4 separate regions of the Homo sapiens genome follow, and regions 1, 2 and 4 are each linked to region 3. Evidence: promoter capture Hi-C in 16 types of primary human blood cells and fetal thymus (Javierre and others, 2016). All regions are on one chromosome and are shown on one strand. Each heading gives the region's core, a stretch centred on a gene start or on the middle of the fragment in contact. The rest is flanking DNA. Distances are from core to core; before and after follow the strand shown.

Region 1 (6,687 bases), core at 394-2,893, 2.1 Mb before region 3:
TTACATGTGCTATGTGTGCTGTGAAAGGTGTGTCAAAAAGTGTATTACATGGCAACTTCTTCAAATATCTTAATGACTATTATATTGTATTATATAAATTTACTCAGTAAATTTGTAATTTCTGAGTAAATATAAATTTATATTACTGCTGAGAAATGATAGGGAGGCAAATTGAGGTCAGTACAAAAGAACTAACCACTAAAAGAATGGGATGCCTTCTGAACGCCAAAAGCATTTAAACAAACTAAATAACCAACTGAAAGGGAAACTGTAGAGATATTCTGCAGTAGGTAAACTGACAGATTAAAGAATCTCTAAAGATGAATACTGAAGTACTTCCATGTAAGCGATGCCTGGAATTTGCTTATAATACTCTCTGGTGGTGGTGGTTGGGGGAGCACCAAGGGATACGGGGATAGACAAAATTCAACTGGCAAAAGGTTGGTAATTACTGAAGCTGAGTGACAGACACATGGGAGTTCATTATATTTCTCTATGTGTATGCTTGAAACTTTTCATAAGTTAAACATTATCTTTAAGCTTCTTCCTTTCCAACCCTTCATTTTTGTGTTATTATGTGAGGGCATGGCAAGAAGACTGGCCTAGTTCCAAGAGAGGGTTTGTGTTAAGGCATAGTAAGAGATAAAAGTAAAAGCAAAATAAATAGTTAGAGGTTTCTGAAGCAATCTACAAAAAAAGTGACAGCAAAGGAACTAAGAAGGAAGGAAAAAATGTAAAAGCACATTTGGGAAAATGGAAGTAGAACCCAGTTCCAGGAACTCACTACTATGTGTAATAAATGCAGTGTAATAAAGAGTCAGAGAAAGTCTTTACGTCCAGGTGACTGGGGGAACAAGGGGCCTTGGCAAAAACAAGAAACTTGTACAGAATAAAGATGGTGAAAAATACTGGAGAAATGATGGACCAGCCTGAGCCATATTGTATCTAAGGTAACAGTGGGACATCTGACTAAAGATGTTGGTCAGAAGAGATGCCAGTAAGTGAAAAAGTAAAGCCAATAAGGGCACACAGATCTACATCCCTCGTGGTGAAAACATGTGTTTGGAGAGAACATACTGTGGCCTTGAAGATTACTTTCAGCACATACCTTTTCCCCTTAACTGGAATTCATCTACTAGTGTTATTTAAAATGTTTTAGAGGAAGGACCCTGCCACTTCAAGCACCTGTTAAGTGCAAAAAGAAATGTGTTGAATTTAACTGACAGATATGAAAGATGCAAACCAGTGCACATTAAATCATCAGAAAACCTAATTCACTGTGAATTCAGGCCAACTAATGCTTTCTAGTAACAAATATTTTAATTCCTAGTGAAAATTCTAGATGAAGACATGGGAGGAAGCCCCCTGCAATAAAGCAATCTTGATAAAACAGAAGACTTATGGCAACTAACTCCTTTCACTGTAATTTAACTGGAGTTACTCCCTAAGGACAGATAAGTTAAACAGATAGAACAGGAATCAACATCTTTTGCTATTGTTACCTAACGTATTCCCTGGGGTTTAAAAAGCTTTTAAGTAAAGAAGCTTCCGACAGACAAAAGGAAAGTGTCTCTGTCTTTTCCTACTGTAGGAATAGATGTTAGGTAGCATTACACAGGAGTTGAGGGCTAATGTGTAAAAAAAAGAAAGAAAAAAAAGAAATCCTTTTCCTACTGTTTCAGAAATATATTCTGAAGACTAATTCAATTTAAAACCAAATATATTCAAGTCCAAAGCTTCCTGCTAAAGACTCACCAGACAAGGACTCTGCCCTCAAGGAGTTTACAATCCATTAAGGTAATTAAGATATAATCTCAAGTAGCTGGCTGCCCAAGGCACACAAGAGAAAAGGGCACTAATACGGGTGCCAGCACCATGCTAGCGTGCTTTCAAACACTATCTCAACTCAAGTTTCTTACCACTCTTACGATAGAGAAATAGTCCCAGTTCACAAAAGATAATAATGGGTATCTAGGTATCTGTATTAGTCCATTCTCACGCTGCTAATAAAGACATACCCAAGACTGGGTAATTTATAAAGAGGTTTAATTGACTCACAGTTCTGCAGAGCTGGGAAGGCCTCAGGAAACTTACAATCATGGTGGAAGGGGAAGCAAACACGTCCTTCTTCAAATGATGGCAGCAAGGAGAAGTGTGAAGCAAAGTGGGGCAGGTGCGGGGGCGGGGTGGGGAAGCCCCTTATAAAACCATCGGACCTCATGAGAACTCACTATCACAAGAACAGCATGGAGGTAACTGCCCGGGTGATTCAATCACCTCCCACCGGGTCCCTCCCACAACACAGGAAGATTATGAGAGCTACAATTCAACATGAGATTTGGGTGGGGACACAGCCAAACCATATCAGTATCCTTTACTAAATGTATATTTTGTGCAAGGCAGTATTACATATATCACCTCTAAGTTTCACAACTCTGGGTGGTAACGATTTCCTCAAATCTAAGATACTTTTTGCCTCATTTTACCATCTCTGAAAATAAGGTGCATCTAGTTGGTATAACCCCCATGAAGGAAGAATTTGGCAAAATCAAACAAACTCACACACTCCCTCTTTAAACCCAGCAATCCCATGCCTAACAATTCAGCCTGAAAAAACACTCCAAGGTGTATCTAGAGAAATAAGTGGATGACAACAAAGTTAAGAGGCAGTATTTTTAATAAGTGACAGGGAAACAAAGGAGGCAGAATGTAGAATGGCAGATCAATGGAATAGCAAAAGGGTTAAGAAAAAATGTTTTAGGAAACATTTGAAACTCAAATTTTCGAACGTCAATTAACATTAAAGTAACAGTTTCTATCGCATCATAATGCTCCTGTATTTAGAAACTATACAAACTCTTTATAAAGGTAATAGACATTTTCCAAATGAAGCATGTGGGCACCATTACTTCCACATCTCTTACATGATAGCAAGATTTTCTATTTTTCTGCTGTGCTGCTATTTTTCAGTAAGCGCAGTAAGGCAGTAAGATTGCTTAATTTATGGGCATTTTGGGGGAAAAAAAGTCTAAGAGTAAAAATACTGAATCTAGGTTAACTGCCTCCTTGTTTCAAAGTGAAGAGTAATATAATGAGATAAAACAGCCCGGTTCCACCAGCGAACAAGATGAAATAAAAACCCTGGATCCAAGAGTGGCAGTTAGGAGTTAACATAGGCTTCCTGGAGGATGCAGTTTGAGCCAAGTCTTACTGAAAGCTAAGAGGGAGTTGGCAAGACAAAGGAAGGTGAAAGGGCATTCTTGGTGGATGTGCTACGCTGCAGCAAGAAATGAGTTGCAACAGCCAGCTATTACTATCATTGCTGAAAAATTCATCCTCTCCTGAATGAGCAAAATTAAGTGAGACATACTTCTCCCAGCTAGGAAATGGGAGAGTTGACTGTTTTCAGGAGCATATTAAAAAATAAAATCCCAGAGTTATGTTTATCTCCCTAAAGTCATGTGTCCAAAACAGAGTTTTTTTTTGTTGTTTGTTTAGACAGAGTCTCACTCTACTGTCCAGGCTGGAGTGCAGTGGTGCAATCTCAGCTCCCTGCAACCTCCGCCTCCCAGGTTCAAGAGATTCTCCTGCCTCAGGCTCCCGAGTAGCTGGGATTACAGGTGCATACCATCATGGCCAGCTAATTTTTGTATTTTTGTAGAGATAGGGTTTCAGCATGTTTACCAGGCTGGTCTCGAACTCCTGACCTCAAGTGATATACCTGCCTTGGCCTCCCAAAGTGCTGGGATTACAGGAGTGAGCCACCATGCCTGGTCCTTTTTTTTTCTTTTAAAAAAGTTATAGATATACTCTAACTTCTTGTAACTCTAGAGTCCTAGTTCTCTGCTTAGATAGAAAGGAAACAAAATATACAGGAATAAGAAACTCAGTATCAAATGAATCCAACAAAATTTGATCCAACTGTTAAAAAGTTCCTGAAAGCTGGCCTAAACCCAAAATGACAATGAAGCTGCAGATATGGAAACCAAGTACAAGGTCAACCCCAAGTGGCCAAATCAATGTCACATCAGGCATATATAAGATAAAAAGTTCATTCTCCATAGGGAAAACAGACAAATACACAAATTACATGAGGGGAAGAAATAACCAAGTCTGTAAAATACTTTGATAAACATGTTCAAACATGATGAGCACAAAAGACCATGACCAAACCCTAATGTGATAGAGGCACTGCAGAGCAGCACAGAGGTCCCCTTTAGGGACCTCTGAAGGAAGCTGGAGAAAGCAGACCAGTGCAACAGTGAAAAATATCTTATTCAAAATCCTTGTTCTATCACTCAGTGTATGACCTTGGGTAAAAGTCACTTAACTACTAGATCTATGAGAAGGTAGCATAAATCAGTGGTAAAGAGCTTCAAATCTCTGTCCATCATGTACTAGATACCCATGACCTTAGTAAATTTGCTTATCTTACAGATGAAGAAACTTGGGCTCAGAAAATTTCAGTGATTTTAAAGAATTTTATTTTGAAAGTCAATCAATATTTGTGTGTAGTTGTAACAGAATTCCTGGCTAATCTCCAAGAAATTATAAACATGTTAACAACTGTCAATGCGGTACAACCATTCCTAAACCTTCTCCTTGATTAATTTACATAGAACTGAAGTCAGCCTACTCAATCATTTCATACAACTTAGCTCAGGTTGTATATGTGCATTTGAGGCAGCAACCATACCCATTCACAATGCCCACCGAGCCAACAACTGAGAAATGCTGTCTGATTTTCCTTCCTATACTGAGATCCAGGAAAGAAAAGCACTTATGAAAAAGGAAGTAAACTGTGGCCTACTCTAACAACCCTGGTACCCGGAAGCCTAACGAACTTACAGGTTTTAAGGAAGGCACTGTTAACGCCATAGCATTCCCCATGCAGAAGCACATATGCCTGTTTAGCTGTGGTCAGCAGGTGGCTAACAGTGTTGCCAATCTTATTCTATCTGGTGTCTCTAAACTCAATCCAAGCAAAAACATTTACTCTTTCTTAAGGGAGAAAAGGATAAGTCATCAGCACAGAATACTGACTGTTTTATCAACTATTCCATGATCTTAAAGCTTTTAGGGTAATCAGATCAGGGCAGGAAGAAGAGTCCTTTGCTGCCTTATAAGCAAAGGCAGAGAGCTTTCTGATATAAAGGAGACTCTTTGCCATGTTTTGAGCCAGTCCCCTTTACACTGCCTTTTGATGATAGATTTGAGACTTAGGGCAGCTGTATAATATGATGGGCTCCTCCTTCAAAGATAATCATCAAGTCAAGTGTATGGGGAATGGAGGTGTGGCATAGTTACACAATCAAAACCTACCTTCTCCAAAAAGACACTCACAATATAACTTCTGTCAAAGATAATCTCTGCTCTTCTCTGACATACAAATATACAACTAGCGCATAAGGAAAGTGAACACTAGAACCACTTGAGTGAACACAATGGGTGAATAAATTATTTAAAGAAAATATTTATCACCTCATTATTAAAACTCTTGTACTGGGGCAAACCCTTACATCTTCTACTTCCTCCCTGACTTTCAAACCCATATCACATCCCCAAAAGCAGAAGTTTTAAAAAAATCAACATTCTCTTTAACACTCTATACCCAGTATGTTCTAATACTTTTAAAAGAAGATGGCTTCTGTCTAGGACAGATAACAAGCTGGTCTTGAGTGATAAAAAACTGGCATCCAGGAGTGCAGTAAATATCAGGGGTGTGTGAATCTCCCAGGAACTTAATGCAAAACTAAAGGCAGTGAAAAAGCCTGAAAACTTGTCATCATTAAAAGGGGAATGGTTGAGGAGTAAAAACAAGTATTCCCCAACTGTTAGGGGAGAGGGAAGGGCATATTTCTTTTTACTCCTCAAATTCAGACTATACCAACGTTGGTCCAGTTTCAATCCAGGACACCCTGTCTGTGAGCCATCTTAATGGTGGCTGGTTTCAATTTGTAGCCTACAGAAGAGTCCTTATCACTACTTTACAGCAATTCTCAAGGAGAACATTTCCAAAATTCCAGGGCATAGTTAACAGCCTTTCAAAGTAAGCAGGACAGAGACTGTTTCTGGCTAAAGGCCCAAAGAGCTCTGGAATTCAAAAGGAAAGAAAACTGCTGGGAGGATTCAGCTCTAAAGAAACCCTTAAAAAACTGATGAATGAGGGCTGGGAGCAGTGGCTCATGCCTGTAATCCCAGCACTTTGGGAGGCCAAGGCAGGTGGATCACCTGAGTTCAGGAGTTCAAGACCAGCCTGACCAACACGGTGAAAGCCCATCTCTACTAAAAAATACAAAAATTAGCCGGGCATGGTGATGCACACCTGTAATCCCAGCTACTTGGGAGGCTGAGGCAGGAGAATCACTTGAACCCGGAGGCGGAGGTTGCAGTGAGCCAAGATCGTGCCATTGCACTCCAGCCTAAGCAACAAGAGTGAAACTCTGCCTCAACATAAAACAAAACAAAAGAATGAGAGAAGAGACTAGTAACATTTCCAATTTTTAAAGTCCACATGACCATTTATTCTCCCTAAATGTGTATTGCATATAAACAAGAATTTTTGTCATGGACCTGTTCATCATTGAAACTATGGGATTCCCCTGTTAGGGACCTCAACTTGAAAGCTAACAAAACAAACAAAAAAAAAATCTCTAGCTAAGAAGATGGCAGACAAGTATAAATAGT
Region 2 (5,972 bases), core at 2,654-5,153, 2.4 Mb before region 3:
AAAAACAGCTTTCAGGCCAGGCATGGTGGCTCATGCCTGTAATCCCAGCACTTTGGGAGGCCAAGGCTGGTGGATTGCCTGAGGTCAGGAGTTCGAGACCAGCCTGGCCAACATGGCAAAACCCCATCTCTACTAAAAATACAAAAGTTAGCCAGGCGTGGTGGTGCACGCCTGTAATCCCAGCTACTTGAGATGTTGAGGCAGGAGAATCACTTGAACCTGGGAGGCAGAGGTTGCAGTGAGCCAAGACCATGTCATTGCACTCCAGCCTGGGTGACAGAGCAAGACACAGTCTCAAAACAAAACAACAAAAAAAAAACAACTTTTTTTTTTATTGCCACTTAAAAAAGGCCTCCCTACTATGCAGAAATCAAGAACTCAACAATTGTTTCCTGTGTCACTACCAAATGTTTCCCAGGGGTTTTGCCACTATGTGGAACCAGCAGTTCTGTGAGGGACTTCTTTCAAGATACCGCCTCAGCTAGAAACAATTTCCCTTTTCCTGGTAATTGGCCATTTCTTGATTCACAGAGGTGGCTTCCTGGTGAACTTCATGCCTGTAAGCTGGCATGACTGTTCTGGAGGAGAGTACCTACCACAAGTTGGGTCAGTTAGAGCCTTTTCTACATGATTTTGTGATTAGAATGATTAGGGAGTTTTAGTCTCTGGGTAGTTGGAATTGTATCTCATACTTGGGAGAGGTTGGTAGACACATTTCCCATTGTATTATTAATACCTGGAGGCAGAGAAAACAAGTTTGCTGGAGTCATACTGGCTCCCCTTACTCTGCTTCCAGCCCATCCAAAATCCCAGCTAATTATTTCCCTTGGCCTCTGTGAGATCCATCCCACCCAAAGCCTAAAGATAAAGTCCCCTTTTATTTTCCTTGAATTGGTCTGATGGGTTTCTGGTCCTTGCAGCCAGCAAACTTCAGATAGTTCTTTGCCTCTGGACCCTGGCACAAAAAGTTCACAGGTGTAGCCCATTCCAATAAAACAGAGGTCAGGTGGTAACTATTGCATTAACTATACTAGCAGTTTCCTTACTGCTTGAGAAAGCTCATTAGAATGTGAGTGCAAATGACATTATTATAGGGATTACCTGAAATCTGCTTAATTTTTTTTAAAGGAAAGTAATATGCCTCTGTGTGTAAATATCATTTGTGACATACCCCCCAACACTGGTATTAAATGGCTGTTTCTTCTGCCTGGAATCTCTGTCTCAACAACTCTTTAGATGTGGCCCCAAAGTCACCTTTTCTGGGAAGCCTACCCACACTCTCCTGTATATTGTTAATTATGCTATTCTCTGTGCTTCCCAAAGCAGTTGGCACATCCATCTTTGTTACATATTTTCTCCCAGAAGTTTTTTGTTTGTTTGTTTTTGAGACAGAGTTTCGCTCTTGTTGCCCAGGCTGGAGTGTAATGCTGCAAACTCGCTCACTGCAACCTGTGCTTCCCGGGTTCAAGTGATTCTCCTGCCTCAGCCTCCCAAGTAGCTGGGATTACAGGTGCGCCTCACTATGCCTGGCTAATTTTTGTATTTTGAGTAGAGATGGGGTTTCACCATGTTGGTCAGGCTGGTCTCGAACTCCTGACCTCAGATGATTCATCCACCTAAGCCTCCCAAAGTGCTGGGATTACAGGCGTGAGCCACTGTGCCCGGCCAGAAGTATTTTTTTTACATGACTGTTTCCTCTGAAATACTGTTCCTCAAAGGTCGGGAGAATACCTCATTTTTCTCAGGATCCCACTGTGCCTGGATCAAAATAGATGCTCAGAAAAGTTTGTTGAATAAATGAAGTTGTATTGGAGCAGTATAACCTATATACATTCTCATTCATCCCAGAAATACTTATTGAGTACCTGAACATGTCGACCCATGTTCTAGATGTTGAAGATGGGAAAAACAAAGTTCCCACCTTCAGAGATATTATAGATGATATTCAGGTTAGAAGGGCTAGGCAGAAAAGTAAAGCAGGCTTAGAGGATAGTGATTGGAGTTGGGACTTGATACTTTAGTAGAGTGGTCTGGGAAAGTCTGGGGAGGTGACTTTTGAGTAGAAACTTGGAAAGCACACGCCTTTCTGATATCTGGAGGAAGCAACACCAAGTACAGAGGTTCTGAAGTAGAAGTGAGCCTCCATATTCCAGGAGCAAGAAGGAGGCTAGTGTGCCTGGCATGCAATGAGGAGGCCGAGTGGAAGGAGGTGCAGTTAGAGAGGTGGAGAGTATAAGTGGACGAAGGGCAGACACATAGGATCTTGGAAGCCTTTGGGAAAAAAACCACATTTTGGAAATGAAAAAAATAGGTGGGCATGGTGGCGTGCACCTGTAGTCCTAGCTACCTGGGAGGCTGAGGTGGGAGGATTGCTTGAGTTTGGGAGGTTGAGGCTGCAGTGAGCTGTGATGGGGCCACTGCACTCTAACCTGGGAGACAGAGTGAGACTGTGTCCCACTCTCCACCCCACTGCCCCCATATTTTTTTTTTTTTGGCTTTTACTCTGAGATGGGAAACCTTCTGGGGGCTTTTGAGCTTAGGTTTCAACAGGATCCCTCTGGCTTCTGTGTTGAGAGAAGGCACCATGAGAGCACAGTGGAATCGTGGAGAACAGGCAGGAGGCTACTACAATATTCCAGGAAAGAGGAAAAGGGGTATTTTAAAGGTAGAGCTGACAGGCTTTTCTAATGGGTTGCATGTGGGATATGATAGGGAGAGTGGAGTCCAGGATGACTCCAATGGTTTGTCTGGAGTCATCAGAAGAATGGAGTTGACATGAACTGAGGTAGGGAAGGTTGTGAAAGGAGCAAGCTAAGGTGCCACGTATGGGTGTTTGACTATCGACTTGTTTACTTGGACACATCGCTCACACTTGTGTATATGCTCCCTGGTTTTCAGGATCTGAAGGTTCTAAAGTTACTTGAAGTTAAAGGCAGCCTTACTTATTGAACACCAAGCACTGTGCAGAAATCTTTATATGTGGTGTCATTTAACCCTTTTAATATTTCTACTGATTTACTCATGTTTCATTGCCCTTTTACAGTTGAGAGATTAACACGTCCAAAGTCACTCAGACAATTATTAACCTGCTAGATTAATGCAGATCTGGGATTCCCATCCAGGTGTGTCAAGACCGTAGAGCTCCTGCTGTTTACTAATCACTGGATTCTAAAGGTGGGAGCCACTTTCTGAGCATATTTGCTGCAGACTTGGTTCCATAACTAAAAAGGTGCCTGGATCATGTGACGAGAATTCAGGAAAGAACCCAACCCCATCCCAGGCATTACAGGTTATACAACAGCTATGAAGAAAGGACGGTATTAGTGGACTCGAGGAGGCTGACTGATGTTTGAAAGTTCAAGTACTTGAAGACTCAATGTTAAAACAGTGATCAAGAGTTAGTTTTTTTGTTATTATTCTTAAGAAAACAGAAAATATTAAAAATTGCAGTGAACCCTTGGTTGGATAAAAGACCACTCCTAGTCGACGCTTGTTGGGAAACACTGGAATTGGAGGAGTGGGGGCAGACAGGAGCGAGAGCCCCTGCCAGCCTACACACACATCCTTTTGAAAGTGTAACCTGGTGTGACCTTCTTTAAGTGGTCCTCTGGAAAGAGCAGGATATGGAGTACAAAAGCCAGGAACCTCTGGGACCGCAGCATCCGCCCCCAGCGCCTCCTTCCCCGTCTTCTTCAGCCTCCACACGGTGGGGCGGGGAGGAGGGGGGAGGAGGAGTGCTGGCGCATGCGCCGGGGGCAAGGTCCGCTCCCCGCGACGTCAGGGGGCTCGCACCCGCTCGAAAGCCCCGCCCCGCGGCCGCCAGAGGCGACCTGGGCGGACTGGGGGGCCTGGGCCACGCCCCCAGCCGAGTCGAGCAAGGCCGAGGGGAGCCGTGCAAGGCCGAGCAGAGCCGAGCGCCTCCGAGAGCGGCCGAGCCCAGCCGAGCGGCCCGGAGTCGGTTGGTGCAGCTGCGTCCCCGCCGCTCAGCAGTCCGCGGCTCCGGCGTCGCCGCCGCCGCCGCCTCTGCGGGGCCTGCGCCGGCCGCCCGCCCGGCCGCGGGGAGGGAGGCCCGCAGCGCGGGAAGAGCGGCCCGGTCGCGGGCGCCGCCACCGCCGCCGCTGCCAGGTGAGCGCCCGCCACGGCCAGCCGGCCCCGCGTGCCCCCGCGGCTGTCAGTCCCCGGTGTCTGTATCTCTCTCTGCCTGTCAGACCCTGTGTCTGCGCGAGCTCCTTCCCGCCACGCCTGGCCCGCGGCCGGCCCGCAGTCTCAGTCAGCCCCCTCCCGCCGGCTGCCCCTGGTCTTTCTGTCAGCCGCCAGCACCCCCATGCTGAGAGGCTCCGCCCCTTCCCCCCGGAGCCCCGCCCTCCGCCATCTGTCATCACCCCCCGGGCTCCAGGAGCGGGCGTCCAGGGGTCCTAGGGGTCAGGGTAGCCCCGCGTGCCACCATCGTAGAAGGCGCAAAAGGGGGTGGTAGAGGGGAAGCGGGGGCGTTCGCGCAGGCCCGCCTGACCGTGTGAGAGTGCATGCCCGAGTGTGCGTTCCGCGTGTGCACCCGAGAGCCGCCTGCGTCCACGCCCGAGGGCCCTTGCACTCTGCTGGGATGTGGCAGCCCATGCCCCCGGTGTAAAGAGCGTCAGCTCGACCAGTGAAGGCGGCAGAGCCAGGACTCGAACCACTCGGGGTACAGTAGCACCCTGAATCTTGGGACCCTTGTCTGCCCACGCGAAAACACTACACGTGGGCCCCAGGTCCTCGGATTCCCTGAGTGGCGTGTGAGTGGAGTTTGGAGCTTGTTAAGCCTTCCCAGTTTGGGATTTTCATTCAGGGAAGCCTGTTGGAAGTGATTGAGGAGTGGATGGGATGTAGGACTTAGGTGGGGAGTGTTTGAGGGCTTGAGTCATTTTGAGTTGCATGGTTTACATTTCTGAGCAGTGATTGCCCTGGGCTTGTGCCCTGCGAGAAACTTATGTGACTTGGGGTGGGGGAGTGAGGTAGGAAGGAATGCTCCTTTCTGTTTTTATCTATGTGAACACATAGTATATATTTATCCAGATATCCTAAATGTTTATTCATGAGGCGTCCACACGTCCTTAATTTAAAAAAGGATTACAGTAGTTTCCATTTATACACGTTCTTGTGTGTTGTTATCTCAATGCTCTTTATTTGTGGTAACTTAGTATTGCAATATTTCAAAACTAAGAGAAAATGCATCCTAAAACAATTGGTATTTTGCCGGATAATTCTGAACCACGGAGAAGGAGCCAAAAGCGCACTTCATTAGCTGGAACAACTTATTCGAGCTTAATTTGTTTCTAAGAGACATACAGTGGAAAAATCCAGAAGCGCAAAATAGTATCAAAGACACATAGAAAATGAATGAAAAGGGCCCTTCTGTTGCTGCCTTGGAAAGATGGTATCAAAGTTGCTGTAGAGGACAGAGCCACTATGTAATGATCAACATATTAACCAAGTTGGTTTTGTGACCTTGATACATTGAGCGGGGCTTGATTTGTGCAGTGGTTCATGACAGGCAAACATTGCATGGGAAGTGTGGTAATTTTTGGAAAAAAATGTTCCCCATGTTGTTTTGGTTTTTGGTTTTGAGTTTGTTTTTTTTTTTTTCATATTGAAGTAAGATTTCAGACAAGGGAAGTCTCATGGTGGAGTGCTTTTTTCTTTTTAAAGATAACATTAAAAATTACCAAAGTAATTCATGTTTAAGGCAGAAAACTTGAAAAACAAAGAAAAGCATTGCAAACAAAACAAAACAAAAAAAACCCCATAATCCCACAAACCATAGTAAATCACAATTTGGTATTAAGCCTTTTAGCCTTGTTCCCATGTATACGTGTTTTTTCTTACAAAAATGCTATCATACTACACAACTTTTATTCTATGCTTTTTTTCTTTGACTTATAACTAGATTATGAGAGATACATCTTTGTTTTATGAGTAGGAACTTGTGTTTCTCT
Region 3 (6,370 bases), core at 777-3,276:
CCCTTACCTACTTTTCTAGCTTCATCTCCTGTCATACCCCAAAATATACCCTAGCACTTAACACTATCACACTGCTCTGTTATTTTGGCTTTCTGGACATTCTAAAGGCACAAATCCCATTCTGCCTTTGTTCATGCTGCACCCTTTGCTTCGAGTTCCATTTCTCTATGAAACAAAACCTTATTCATCCTTTAATGTTCACTCCAAAAATACCACCTTAATGAAGTATTTCTTATCCATACATTCAACTTTCCCTCCCTCTTCCATACTTCCATATAATTATAATAGTAACCTATCTAGTGCCAAGATCCTGTTGTGTGTTATTCTCATTTAAACCTCACAACACTACTTTGGGTAGGGTAGGTATTATACCCAATTTACAGATGGAGTAACTGAGACTTTGAGAATTTAAGTGACTATCAAGTCATCAACTTAGTAAGTGGTAGACATGATGGGCACTGCAGTCTGACTCTAGAGCTCATCTTCTTTACCACCACCTTACTCTGTCTCATTGTAAAATCTCTTCTAGAGGACATCTAACTTTATATTCAATTAAGAGAGAGACAGTAACTTGAGAGCAGAGCCCTGAGCATCTGTATTTGTCTCCTGAACACAGGATTAGGTTTTCAATAAGTGTACCCTCAATGGATGAACTAAATAATGAAATAGAACTCTTAAGAGTAATTCCACGTTCTTTAACCAAAATAGTACCCTGGTCTGATTTCAAACAATTAATTCAGCTCTTTATTATACCTAACACTTTCACCTGTTACTAAAAGCGTGAATAAATTAAAAGTATTCATTACTTAGTAAGTTCCTAGTTTTGGATGCAAATAAAACTCAGGATGGATAATTGGCTGATGACTTGAAATGCTGAACCATAAAACTGTCAAGTGACAGACTACAAATTTTTAAAAAGCATTAAACATATCTCTTGCTTGGGTTTATCTCTCACATCACTTATATGCATGGTCAGAATTTCAGAGAACCACTGAAAAATTAAAAGCTTTGCTTATATTACATTCTTGGTGTCATTTCATTTTTGCTGCAATATACTTTGCACATCCAGACCTGCAGGGGTGCAGGTGGTAGAAAAAAATCAAGCTGGTAGCTGTAATTTAAAAACTTTTGTTTTTTACAAGAAACTGTTTGCAGAGAGGAAGTAATGCATCTAGTACGGTCTGGCATATGCACATTCAGTAAAAACCTGATTAATGAGTAAATATCAAGACAAAACAAGTAAAGCATTTTGTGATTGTGATTCGTGTTAGTCTGTAAGAGAGGAAGTGGCTGGCAGCCAATATGAAGGACTGTTCCCTTTTCTAGTAGACATTCGGAGTGGACAACAATTATCCTAAAAGAAAATAACACACTTTCCCTTTTTTTGAGCATTTATTCTAAGTCTGACAACGCGTTCTGCTTGTCATTTAAGCCCACAGCATAGAAGCTATTGTTCTGCCCACTTTACAGGTAAAGAAGTCATGGCTCAGAGGCATTAAGTGACTCGCCCAAGGTCACCCTACTACAAGGCAGAGACGAAAATTCGAACCCGGACAGTCTGACTCCATAACTTGGGCTTGCAAGCCTCCAGCAGCGAGCAGCATTGTCTGTCGGGCCACAGCGCAACCCCAGGGCGCTAACGAGACACGAGAGGGAGCTTTAGGATTCCCCATCTCGCGGGGTGGGCAGGACAAGCATCAGTAACGAGGAAGACGAGGCCTGAGGAGGCTGGACCACTTTAACAAGGTCACAAAGAGTTTCTGCTCACGCTAGGGGAGCACCCCCAAATCCCTCGGGACCACTGGGGAGCCTGAGCCAGAGCTCCCCCCGCACAGAGGCGGCAGCGCCCAGCTCGCCGAGGTCAGGCCTGCGAGCAGGTCTGCTGGCCCCAGGGCGCCGGCCGCGGCGCCAAGACCGAAGTCAGGCCGCCGCATCTGCCCAGCGTTCCACCAAGGGCCTTACCGGGTCGCCAGAACTTCACCGGTCCCACGGGCGCAGCCATGTTGGGGTAAAAGGTCACGAGGCTAGCTCCACCCCACCGTCGCGCGCTAGGCCCCCAGGGCCCGGAGGGCGTGGCCCCCGAAGAGCCGCTGCCCAGACGGATCGCGCCGTGTGACGGCCACGCCCCCACAGCTACCGCCCCCGTCTGAGCCACGTGACCCACTTCCAGGCTCCGGCGAGCGCACCGGCCCCGCCCCCGAGCCCACGTGACCCTGCTCAGCCATTTTGGAGAAAAGGGCGCGCTCCTCCGCCTACCTCTTGAGCGTGGAGGGTAGATGCTTCAGGTGACCTTTTACGAGCGTGGCGTGTCCTGGATGGCGGCCGCACACTTAGGAAGAACGGGCTTTGGGAGAGGACCGCTGGCCCGAGAGTGGAACCTTGCACGCACTGGGCGTTGAAGCAGTGCTTTCTGGATTAAATACGAAATACTGATGTCACAAGCTACCTCAACTTGTCGACTTCTGTTTTATTCTCAATTTCAAATTGAAGGGTAATAATAGGAACTACCTCGTGGGTTGTATTTGTCAGTAAATATTGCGCGCCTGCTGTGGGCCCAGGTAGTGCGGCACAGTGCCCCAAATAAAACAATGCGAAATGATATGGAAGTCTTCAGGGACCTTGAGGGCAAAACGGAAAAACGGACTGGGGGTGGGGTGGAGCGAATGGGTTGGCAGAAGAGACTGAAAATGGGTAGATCAATTAAGGTAGTCCACCAACTCAGTGCTTCCTCCAATTTGATACCCTTGAGTCAAATGCTTGTTAAAAACACAGATTCTAGGCCTTGATCCAATTCTGAATCGATGTCCTGGAGCATGGCTTGGGAACCTGCATTTTGAGAAGCTCCTGAATTCTTCAGATTAACAAATTTGGGAAAGATTACACTAATCCATCAGACGAAAGGTGAGGTCAAAGAAAAAGAAATTACAGTAATCCAAAGGAGCGCTAAGAAGGGGTGATGAGCTCAAGTGGAGGAAATAACTTTCTAGGTAGGCAACTAATTGGAAGGAAGTGAGAGGCTTCAGAATCTATGCATTTTTAAAGCTGTGAAGAAAATTCTGAATTCTTTGAAAGAAGTGGCATCATTATGGCAAGAGCAGGGGCTTTTGTGGACAACCAGTCCAGACTTGGAATCGTAACTTTGCCATTTCCTAGCTCCTAGCTGTCATTTAATTTTAGTTGTAAAATGAGGTTTAAAGAGGTATTACATGAGATAACATGTAAAGTACCTAACAGTGCAAAACATAGCAGGCACTGAATCAATGTTAGCTCTCATTACCTCAACTCAGAGCAAATCCACCAGGGGGAAAAAAATCTGAATTTACCTGCATAGGTTCATGTAAGAATCTTCTTTGATTTATTTTTATAGTAATTAATGTAGGGACTCAATATCTGTTAGTCCCTCGGCCTAGAATTCTCCATCCATCCTTTAAATTATCTTTATCCCTTAAAGGGCTAGCTCTAAATTATCTATCCAACTTAAACATTCCCCCTTGTAGTCTAGGAACTGTATTCTCACTTTTGTGAGAAAAGTGACCTGTAGTTTAGTTGCCTGTAGTTTACCTGCCGCCACTATTACACAGGGAACTTACTGAGGACGAGGACCATGTCACATTCACATTCGTGGCCCAGTAACAAGTGCCTATTGAGTGTAGATAAACATCATGCTTTAGGCTTAGTTTTAGTTGATCTGTAGTTTACCTGCCGCCACTATTACACAGGGAACTTACTGAGGACGAGGACCATGTCACATTCACATTCGTAGCCCAGTAACAAGTGCCTATTGAGTGTAGATAAACATCATGCTTTAGGCTTAGTTTTAGTTGATCTGTAGTTTACCTGCCGCCACTATTACACAGGGAACTTACTGAAGACAAGGACCATGTCAGCATTCACATTCACATTCACATTCGTAGCCCAATAACAGTGCCTATTGAGTAATGTATAGATAAACATCATGCTTTAGGCTTAGTTTTAGTTGATCTGTGGTTTACCTGCCGCCACTATTACACAGGGAACTTACTGAGGACGAGGACCATGGCACATTCACATTCGTAGCCCAGTAGCAGTGCCTATTGAGTAATATACAGATAAACATCATGCTTTAGGCTTAGTTTTAGTTCTTCATGACATTGATTTTTCCTTGTTTTATTTTTGTCTTATTTTACTAACAGCCCAAATACGGAAACCAAGGTTTATACATGAATATAAGGCAAAATGAAATAAATGCCACTTTTAAGATTATTTCATGGCCTGGCACGGTGGCTCACACCTGTAATCCCAGCACTTTGGGAGACTGAGGCAGGCAGATCAACTGAGGTAAGAGTTCGAGACCAGCCTGGCCAACATGGCGAAATTCTGTCTCTACTAAAAATACAAAAAAATTAGCCGGGTGTGGTAGTAGTCACCTGTAATCCCAGCCAGTTGGGAAGGTGAGGCAGGAGAATCCCTTGAACCCGGAAGGCAGAGGTTGCAATGAGCAGAGATCCGCCACTGCACTCCAGCCTGGGCGACAGAGTGAGACTCTATCTCAAAAAATAGAAAAAAAAATAAATAAAATAACTTATCTATTTTATCTATTACTCATATAATGAAACCTTCCTGTTTATGAAGAGACAGTAAATCGGCCATGCCTGTATTATTGGATCATAATCTTTTTTCTTTTTTAGATGGAGTCTTGCTCTGTCGCCCAGGCTGGCAAGCAATGGCGAGATCTCATCTCACTGCAACCTCCACCCACCGGGCTCAAGCGATTCTCCTGCCTCAGCCTCCCTAGTAGCTGGGACTACAGGCACACGCCACCATGCCCGGCTAATTTTTGTATTTTTAGTAGAGACAGTTTCCCCATGTTGGTCAGGCTGGTCTCATGGATCATAATCTTAAAGCTGGAGGAGACCATACTTAACACCTAGCCTGAATTTCTTGTCTTATAGGAAACTGAGGTACATAGAAGTTAAAAGGACTTGGTCAGAATCAATGAGTTAATTTAGTATCAGAACTAAAACTAGAACTCGGGCTTTCTAATTCCCAGGCCAGTGTTTGCTCAACTACATGGGCCACTTAAAATCATTAGAGCTACACTCTCCTGGAAGAAAATTAGTTCATCTGCCTTAGAAAGTTCTCAAAGTCCAACTCTCCCCAAGGGGTTATTTTGCCTACACAGACTACTGTTAGAGAAAATACCTAAGTAATAACCTGCATGTTGATGTTGTGGTTTTATTTCCACAAACTAGGAATGGTCTCAACAGATTCTTAGTCTTCCTAATTAACTATTTTCAGAAAGAATGGGCTAAAATAACTGCTCTGAAATTAAAACTGATATTTCTTGAGATGGCATCCAGAATTTATTTAGTTGATTGCCAACAATTCCATAAAAGTCTAATCATTTTGTTACATAAAGGTGTATTTTGCAACTTCCAAATGATAAGCTTTCCAGAAAGATAATGTTCCTCAAAATCGTGTTACAATATGGAAGTTTTTCTGTGCCTATGATAAAGGGTATTTTTTGCTTTGAATTTCCAGACTAAACCTATTGACCATGTTCAGGAAGGCATAGAATTTAGGGTTTTCATTTTTGTACCAGTTAAGACTTTTATGGATATAAGTGATAGAAAACCCAACCCAACCTCTCTTAAGCAGAAATGGCTCATATAAACTAAAAAGTCTGGCTGGGCACAGTGGCTCACACCTATAATCCCAGCACTTTGGGAGGCTGAGGGGGGTGGATCACCTGAGGTCAGGAGTTTGAGACCATCCTGGCCAACATGGTGAAAGCCCGTCTCTACTAATAATACCAAAAAAATTTGCCAGGCATGGTGGTGCACACCTGTAATCCCAGCTACTCAGGAGGCTGAGGCTGGAGAATCGCTTGAACCTGGGAGTCAGAAGTTGCAGTAAGCTGAGATCACACCATTGCTCTCCAGCCTGGGTGACAAGAGTGAAACTCTGCCTCCAAAAAAAATAAATAAATAAAAATAAAATGAAAAGTCCAAGAGTAGTTCTGACTTGAGACACAGCTGCATCAGGATACATACCACATAACCAGGATTCTTTCTGATCATATTGATCCACGTTCTGCTGATTCAGGCGTAACGTGGTAACAAAGTGGCCATGCCAGTTTTAGCCACCACATCCTCTTAAGCATTAAACCTCTTTCCAAAATTCCTTGGCAACGTATTCCTGACAGGCCATGTATCCATCCCTAAATCAACCACTAAGCCCAGGAATCTAATGTACTAATGGACTTAGGCCTTGGTCCCATGTTCCACATCCAGGGTCGGGTTAGGTCAGCTTCAGCAGAAACACATGGACTGAAAGCTGGGAACAGAACGGTTCCTCAGAGGGAAATCTGAGCGTGAGATTACCAGAGGAT
Region 4 (6,310 bases), core at 408-2,907, 2.1 Mb before region 3:
TTCCTTTGGCAATGACCACTTTGCTGTAAACATTCTTAGAAAAGTAGGAATTAGGCTTGGCGCGGTGGCTCATGCATGTAATCCCAGCACTTTGGGAGGCCGAGGCTGGTGGATCACGAGGTCAGGAGATCGAGACCATCCTGGCTAACACGGTGAAACCCTGTATCTACTAAAAATACAAAAAATTAGCCAGGCGTGGTGGCGGGCGCCTGTAGTCCCAGCAACTTAGGAGGCTAAGGCAGGAGAATGGCGTGAACCTGGGAGGCGGAGCTTGCAGTGAGCCGAGATTGCGCCACTGCACTCCAGCCTGGGTAACAGAGTGAGACTCCATCTCAAAAAAAAAAAAAAAAGAAAAGTAGGAACTAGATATACAATTGGATCCTTCTCAGCCCAAACCTAGATATGAAGACACCTTTTACTTTACAGTGACCGCTTTGTAACTGGAAGACATCAGTGTAGGCTCTGCTGATTCAATTAGGTAAAGACTCAACAACACTAGTTACATGTTACAATTCACTGTGTAAATGTCAAGAAGATTTAAAACTTTAACAGGGAATACCAATGAAAGACAGACTCCCCAACATCAATCACTATTTCAAACCTAACATTCAAAATAAAGATCCAGTTGAGAATAGAGGCTGTCTCATCAAAGTTTACATTTTACAATGAGGACAGAGAGGCACCTTCATATACTTATCTAATTCTCAACAGTTTGTGAAACATAAATATTATCCTTGCTTATGGATAAGAAAACAAGGTTCAGTGGTCAGATCATGTTTCATAGGAAGAACAGGGACTTATCTCGATTTTTCGGAATCCTACACCAATTTTCTATTTTACCACAGCTGTCTCCTCACACCCCCACTCTTCCCCTAGACCTAACATTCCACATACAAAGGGTCCAAGCTATCTCTAACAGCAGATAATCAAGGGCAGGTTCTGACATCTGTACTAGAAGCTTACCAATTACAGCCTGAGTGGGGTTTCCAGAATCTGGACCAAGGCAGCATGTTATCAAAAAGGGGACATGAAAAGGCATAAAGGGTAAAAAGAAAAAAACGTTTCCTTTCCTGGTCTCTGGTTCTCCCCATAAGCCTATGCAATCTATATTATCTTTATTCAATTCAGATTTAATGCACATAAAAATGTGGTGCCTAATAAGTTTTCAAAATTAGTTCCCTTCATCCCACTTCTGCTGCTTGGCAAGAGCTCACATAGTCAACTACAAGGAAACAAAGGGGCTACCTTACTGGAGTCAGGTTAAGTAAAAGGTCTTAGCCAATGAGATCCACAAATGACAATGATCCTGAAGCCTCCTAGATTAGTCTCCTGCACAATCAGTAATATACCTACAAAGCTTTATAAATCTGGGCATTCATACATATATGATAGCAAGATTAACATTTGGACTTCTACTAAGGGGAAAAAGGGTGTATTATTCTGGTGGAGGACTAACCTTCAACAAAGAACTTTTTTTCTATAAACTCCAATAGCCAAGAAAAGTCCTAGGCATCTATCTTTGCTAGCGTGTGCTAAGAAAAACAATATAAAGAATAATGGGACCACAAGCTGGCTGGGTCGGTTTCGTTCTTAAAATATAGGAAAACGTCAGAATACCCAGGGATCTGTTAAATTCTTTTCCCAACATCATCATTTACAACAACAAATACAGGAGATCTGAAGTCCCTAAAAATACTGATTGCTTTAACATCTTTTGTTGGAGCTTACCTAGGTGTTTCTTAGGAATGCTAATGAACTGTGTTCTTTAGGCTCCTTGAATCCACAGAAACAAAAATGTTAATTTCAAAGGCTCAGAGGGGAATTAATTGCCTGGTAGAGATGCCTCCCCACCCCAAATCTGATGGGAAGGGTAGAAGGGAGATGGTAAATTAAAACATTTATTACACATTTCAGAAAAATTTAGCAGACAGGTAAGTGAGTGAAACTAGAAGCTTAAGACAACAAATGAAAAATGAATACCTACCAAAAAGAAATTAAGGGTCAGGCACAGTGGCTCATGCCCAGCACTTTGAGAGGCTGAGGTGGGCAGGCTGCTTGAGCCCAGGGGTTCAAGACCAGCCTGGGCAACATGGCGAGAAACCTCGTCTCTACAAAAAATGCAAAAATTAGCCCGGCGTGGTGACATGCACCTGTAGTTCCAGCTACTTGGGAGGGTGAGGTAGGAGGATCGCTTGAGCCCAGGAGGCAGAGGTTGCAGTGAGCTGCAATCACACTACTGCGCTCCAGCCCGGGCAACAAACAGAAACCCTGTCTGCCCCCCACCCCGCCCAAAAAAAAAGTAAAGGAAAGAAGTTAAAATTAAAAGTTGCCTACCTTCCTTGGAATTTCTTTCTTACTAAACGTTAAGAGACATAAATGACACACATAAAGACAGTTAATACAAACTTCGATACAGATAGCCAAAGTTGATATTACGATCTATATACTCCAGAGATATGCATGAGATACCAGTAACATCACTTCTCTCCCAGTGTGAAAAATATCTAGGATCTTTCCTATACACACAGAAAATGTTCAACAATATCTATTTACTATTAAATCATTTCAGCAAACTATCAGCCATTTCTCATAACGCCACCAAAATACCATCAATATCTAACAGACATTCCTCTACAAGCTTCCCCGCAACCCCCAATCAAACTTTGTCCACCCTGCCCTCATTTACATCCCTCTCCACCCTTCCCAGGCCCTATGCTATCAACACAGCACATACTGTCCACATCTAGATAGGCAGGTGGCAGGGAGGGTGGGGGTTGGCAAAATGCTAATTATTCCAACCCTGGCCTCTATTTTAGATTTTCTACTGCAGCTATTGGCCTGGAGCCATGGGGATGGAAAGCTGCTGCTCAAACTTGAGATGTATGAGGCATGGAAATAGGGAGAAAAGACAGTTCCAAATATTACTACTCGAAGTTTAAACACAATCTGAAAGCTTCCTTTAAACACAATACCCATTCGCCTCTTAAGGACTAGTTTGGAAGTCTCTAAACTTTTTACCTTAAGAAATCCATGTGTCAACTGTTTGCCTAAATGCCCTTATTATCCAAAGTTAATGGTTTCAAAATAATTAAGGGATAGTCAGATAATCTAAACCATACAACACAGAAAATTCACTCAACTGACTCTCACCTCCACATCCAATATATTTTACTATTCTTTCAATAGGGTTTTTTTTTTTAAACCTCCAGGTCCAATGTCAAAATACTCATTTCAAACATTTCCACAGCTTCATTCAAACTAATTACATTTGAATTCATTTTCCCAAGCAAACACAGTTTACTGGAGTTCGACACAGTTTCACATGGGAAAGATGCAATCCCTCACAAAACACACTTCTGAGGAAACGACTTTGGATTTGAAGAATATCAGTTTTACTTTGCACTAAAAAGATGGCAAAAGGCAAAAGTTGATAATGATGTGTCATATAAATATGCATTCATGTCCAACTAATATGAAATAACATGGTTTTAGTATAATCTGAAACTTCTAAAATGATATGTATTCAGAAAGCACAACAGAATCATTTTCCATACCATTAGCAGCAGGGACAACTGTTACTATATAATTAATATACAACAAAGCTGTATATTAGAAGGCAAACATTTTTTTGCACCTCCCCACCCCACACATGCACTGAAAACAAGCAAAACAAAAAAACCTCACAGCCCAATTTTGGAATATAAACTTTAAGACATGTTATTTAATAATCTGAACAAACTAATGAATGTCTTTCCAACTCTCTCAATTCCCCATCTTTATGCTGACAGCAAGGGGAAAAAGTCAGACTCAATTCCTTTTTTTTTTTTTTTTTTTTGCTGCTATTGGTTAAAATGAGATTTGGGGACTGACCTTGGTTTCCTATTTTCCATTTTACTCTATCTACTGAACCAAAGAAAAGCAGGAGTTGGTGACCGTTACTGCTAGCTATATTATTTAGTTTGCACCTTTCAAGCCACAACGTATTTCTGATTCTTTTAGTGATGCCTGGATTTTCTTGTTTTTACTAGAAACATCCAATCCGAGCCTAAAATTTGTTTGTGAGATCTGATATGCTGGTAAACTAAAAAAACACATATTGACAAGCAACTTTCTTTTATGTCAAAGCATAGTATAAAAATCCTAGCGGCTCACTAATTCTAAAAAGGTGCCTCAAGGAGTCCAGTTGCAATGTAAGGGAAGAAAACCACCCTGGAGCATAATGCTTAAGTATTTCCTGATTGAGTCTGAGGATGCTGCAGATTTCATTTGGCGGTACCATCACTTTTCAGTTTTAAAAATGTAGTGGCAATTTTCAGATAGCCACATCATCAGCTATCTGAAATTCCCCCACCGCAATCAGCTATGCTACCGCCCATCCCAACCCATACCCAACAGACAGAAGTACAACTATCTATTAGCATCAGAAACAATTCATATTTAATTACCTTCATCCAATTTGATTCCATTAAGCCAACCAGAATCAGCACAAGATGATGTCAAACCATGATCCTATATATCACTTCTTAGACTAAAGACTGATGGAGCCAAGTATTGTGCTTTGCTAAGGGGGTCAAATGGGGGAGAACTCCCTATCTCCATAGCAGACAGGCAAAAACTTCAAGACCTCTGAAACAGCAGAAGAATCGCTAACACTTTAACCTGGTATTACCATTATCAATTCTACAGATAGCTACGCAGCCTGTACAGTACTGTAATAATGACTCAGCCCCACTACAGTTAGTTCTACCAATACTTAGGAAGTCTTTTCACTTAGACTTAGATATGGTTTCTGCTCCAAATTCCTAACTCACTGTCAACATTTTAAATATAAATAACAGAGTCTCCCAGCAGTTGAGTATGGGTCAGAATGTTCTAAATTACATGCAAAGAGCTACAATTTTAAATATTGCGAAGAATGAGCTCCAAAGTGGGGGGACGGGGGGGAATCTTTTATATCTTAGGGGATGAGGGCAGGCAAAATGAGAGACGTTTGATTTTAATATATGAACTTGTACAGTTAATCTGTAAGATGGGTTAGGCCCTCTTAAAATCACGCTTAAACAATCTCTTAATACAAAGTTCAATAATGACATGTCTGGGCATAATTAAACATTGATTTCTACTTTTTTTAAAGTTTTTTTCATAGTTACATAAATCAATCACTGGTTAACAATGTATTACTTGAGATAGCAAGCATAGTTACCAACACCACATCTTCCAGACAATATTCACAAAGAATAATTACACCAATGTCAGAACTTTATGGTGGCAGATTCTCTTCAAAAAGCATGTTTAGATAAAAAGCAAATGACAAATTATCAAATCCTTCCTTCTCTCCTTTTTCAGCTCTGTAAGAAAATAGAGATTTGTGGCTTTTTATTTTTTCATGCTAGTATCATATAGTATCACTCTAGCATAGTGGCTCAGCTCATGGGATTTAGAGTGGCCAACTCACAGCCCTTGGGCAAGCTAGTAAATACACTGAAGCCTCAGTTTCCTCATCTACAAAACAGAAATAACAGGACCTAACTCACAAGGGTCCTTCCAAGGATTACATTTAATTAGATGATCCATGGAAAGAGCTGAGATTCATGCCTGGCAGTAAGTATTCAATAAATATTAGCTATTATTGCTATTAAATGTGAGCCAACACATTCTAAAAGTCAACATACGCAGATTACTTCAGCCTCTATAAAAATGTCAGTAAAGATCAATAACCTAGCCAGCTCACAATCATTCACGTGACTTAGGTGAGAACCATGTAAGTTAACTTTCTCACAAGAAAGGGCTAAACTTTGTTTCATTACTTACATTACCTACTCAGCCCAGCCTGACAGCCAAAAGAACACATTCCATATTAAAGATCCCACCTTCCTCTAGCAAGGTCAAAAGGACTTCTTACATCCTCACCTGCACATCCTTTCTTTGCTCCTGTATCCCAAAGAAACATGTCTATACTGTGGCTTTCTAAACTGCAGGCCTCACCTCCTCCCTCTTTTAAAATCGTGATAGGTTGGTTAAACGTACTTAAGAAACACTCCAACCCCTGACAATTCTCTGCGCCCAGTCTTCCACAACCCCCAGCTCAGAAGTCACCTCCTCTGAGAAATTTCCCCACCCTCAGACAAAATTAACTCCCCTATACTTCAAAGCATTTTGGGTACACATATGCCCCAGTAGTTACCTTATAATTAACTAATTATGTCTCCCCCAATAGACTGAATTGAGAGCAAGGGAGTGTTATGGTTACAGGATCAGCTCTAGCACCAAGCACAGTGGTTGGCACATATCTGGTGCTCAAGAAATGCCA

Evidence for each region. The method cuts DNA at HindIII sites, captures the fragments that hold promoters and counts their contacts. A CHiCAGO score of 5 or more calls a contact.
Region 1: a contact is called between a fragment that was not itself captured here and the fragment with the promoter of DHX35 in region 3, in 1 of 17 cell types (erythroblasts). The highest score is 11.1, in erythroblasts.
Region 2: the fragment with the promoter of ZHX3 here is called in contact with the fragment with the promoter of DHX35 in region 3 in 1 of 17 cell types (total CD8 T cells); the score reaches 5.5 in total CD8 T cells.
Region 4: a contact is called between a fragment that was not itself captured here and the fragment with the promoter of DHX35 in region 3, in 2 of 17 cell types (neutrophils and erythroblasts). The highest score is 8.2, in neutrophils.

What each region holds. Positions count from the first base shown.
Region 1 is chr20:41,049,798-41,056,484 of GRCh38, reverse strand. The region is part of intron 2 of TOP1 (DNA topoisomerase I); the gene reads right to left. Among named protein-coding and RNA genes, the nearest start is that of TOP1, 24 kb to the right of the region's middle. RefSeq lists a silencer at 3,062-3,356. The HindIII fragment of the contact is 191 bases long and covers 1,548-1,738 here.
Region 2 is chr20:41,315,662-41,321,633 of GRCh38, reverse strand. ZHX3 (zinc fingers and homeoboxes 3) reads left to right here and starts at 3,903. Exons shown (of 4, transcript NM_001384317.1): 1 at 3,903-4,125. RefSeq lists an enhancer at 3,474-3,523 and silencers at 3,634-4,083, 4,094-4,383. The HindIII fragment of the contact is 7,702 bases long and covers 1-5,972 here.
Region 3 is chr20:38,958,000-38,964,369 of GRCh38, reverse strand. It overlaps DHX35 (DEAH-box helicase 35), which reads right to left and starts at 2,026. Exons shown (of 22, transcript NM_021931.4): 1 at 1,963-2,026. The coding sequence starts at 2,002. RefSeq lists an enhancer at 1,692-2,001 and a silencer at 2,042-2,161. The HindIII fragment of the contact is 4,420 bases long and covers 1,009-5,428 here.
Region 4 is chr20:41,030,873-41,037,182 of GRCh38, reverse strand. All of the region lies in intron 2 of TOP1 (DNA topoisomerase I), which reads right to left. Among named protein-coding and RNA genes, the nearest start is that of TOP1, 5.2 kb to the right of the region's middle. The HindIII fragment of the contact is 595 bases long and covers 1,360-1,954 here.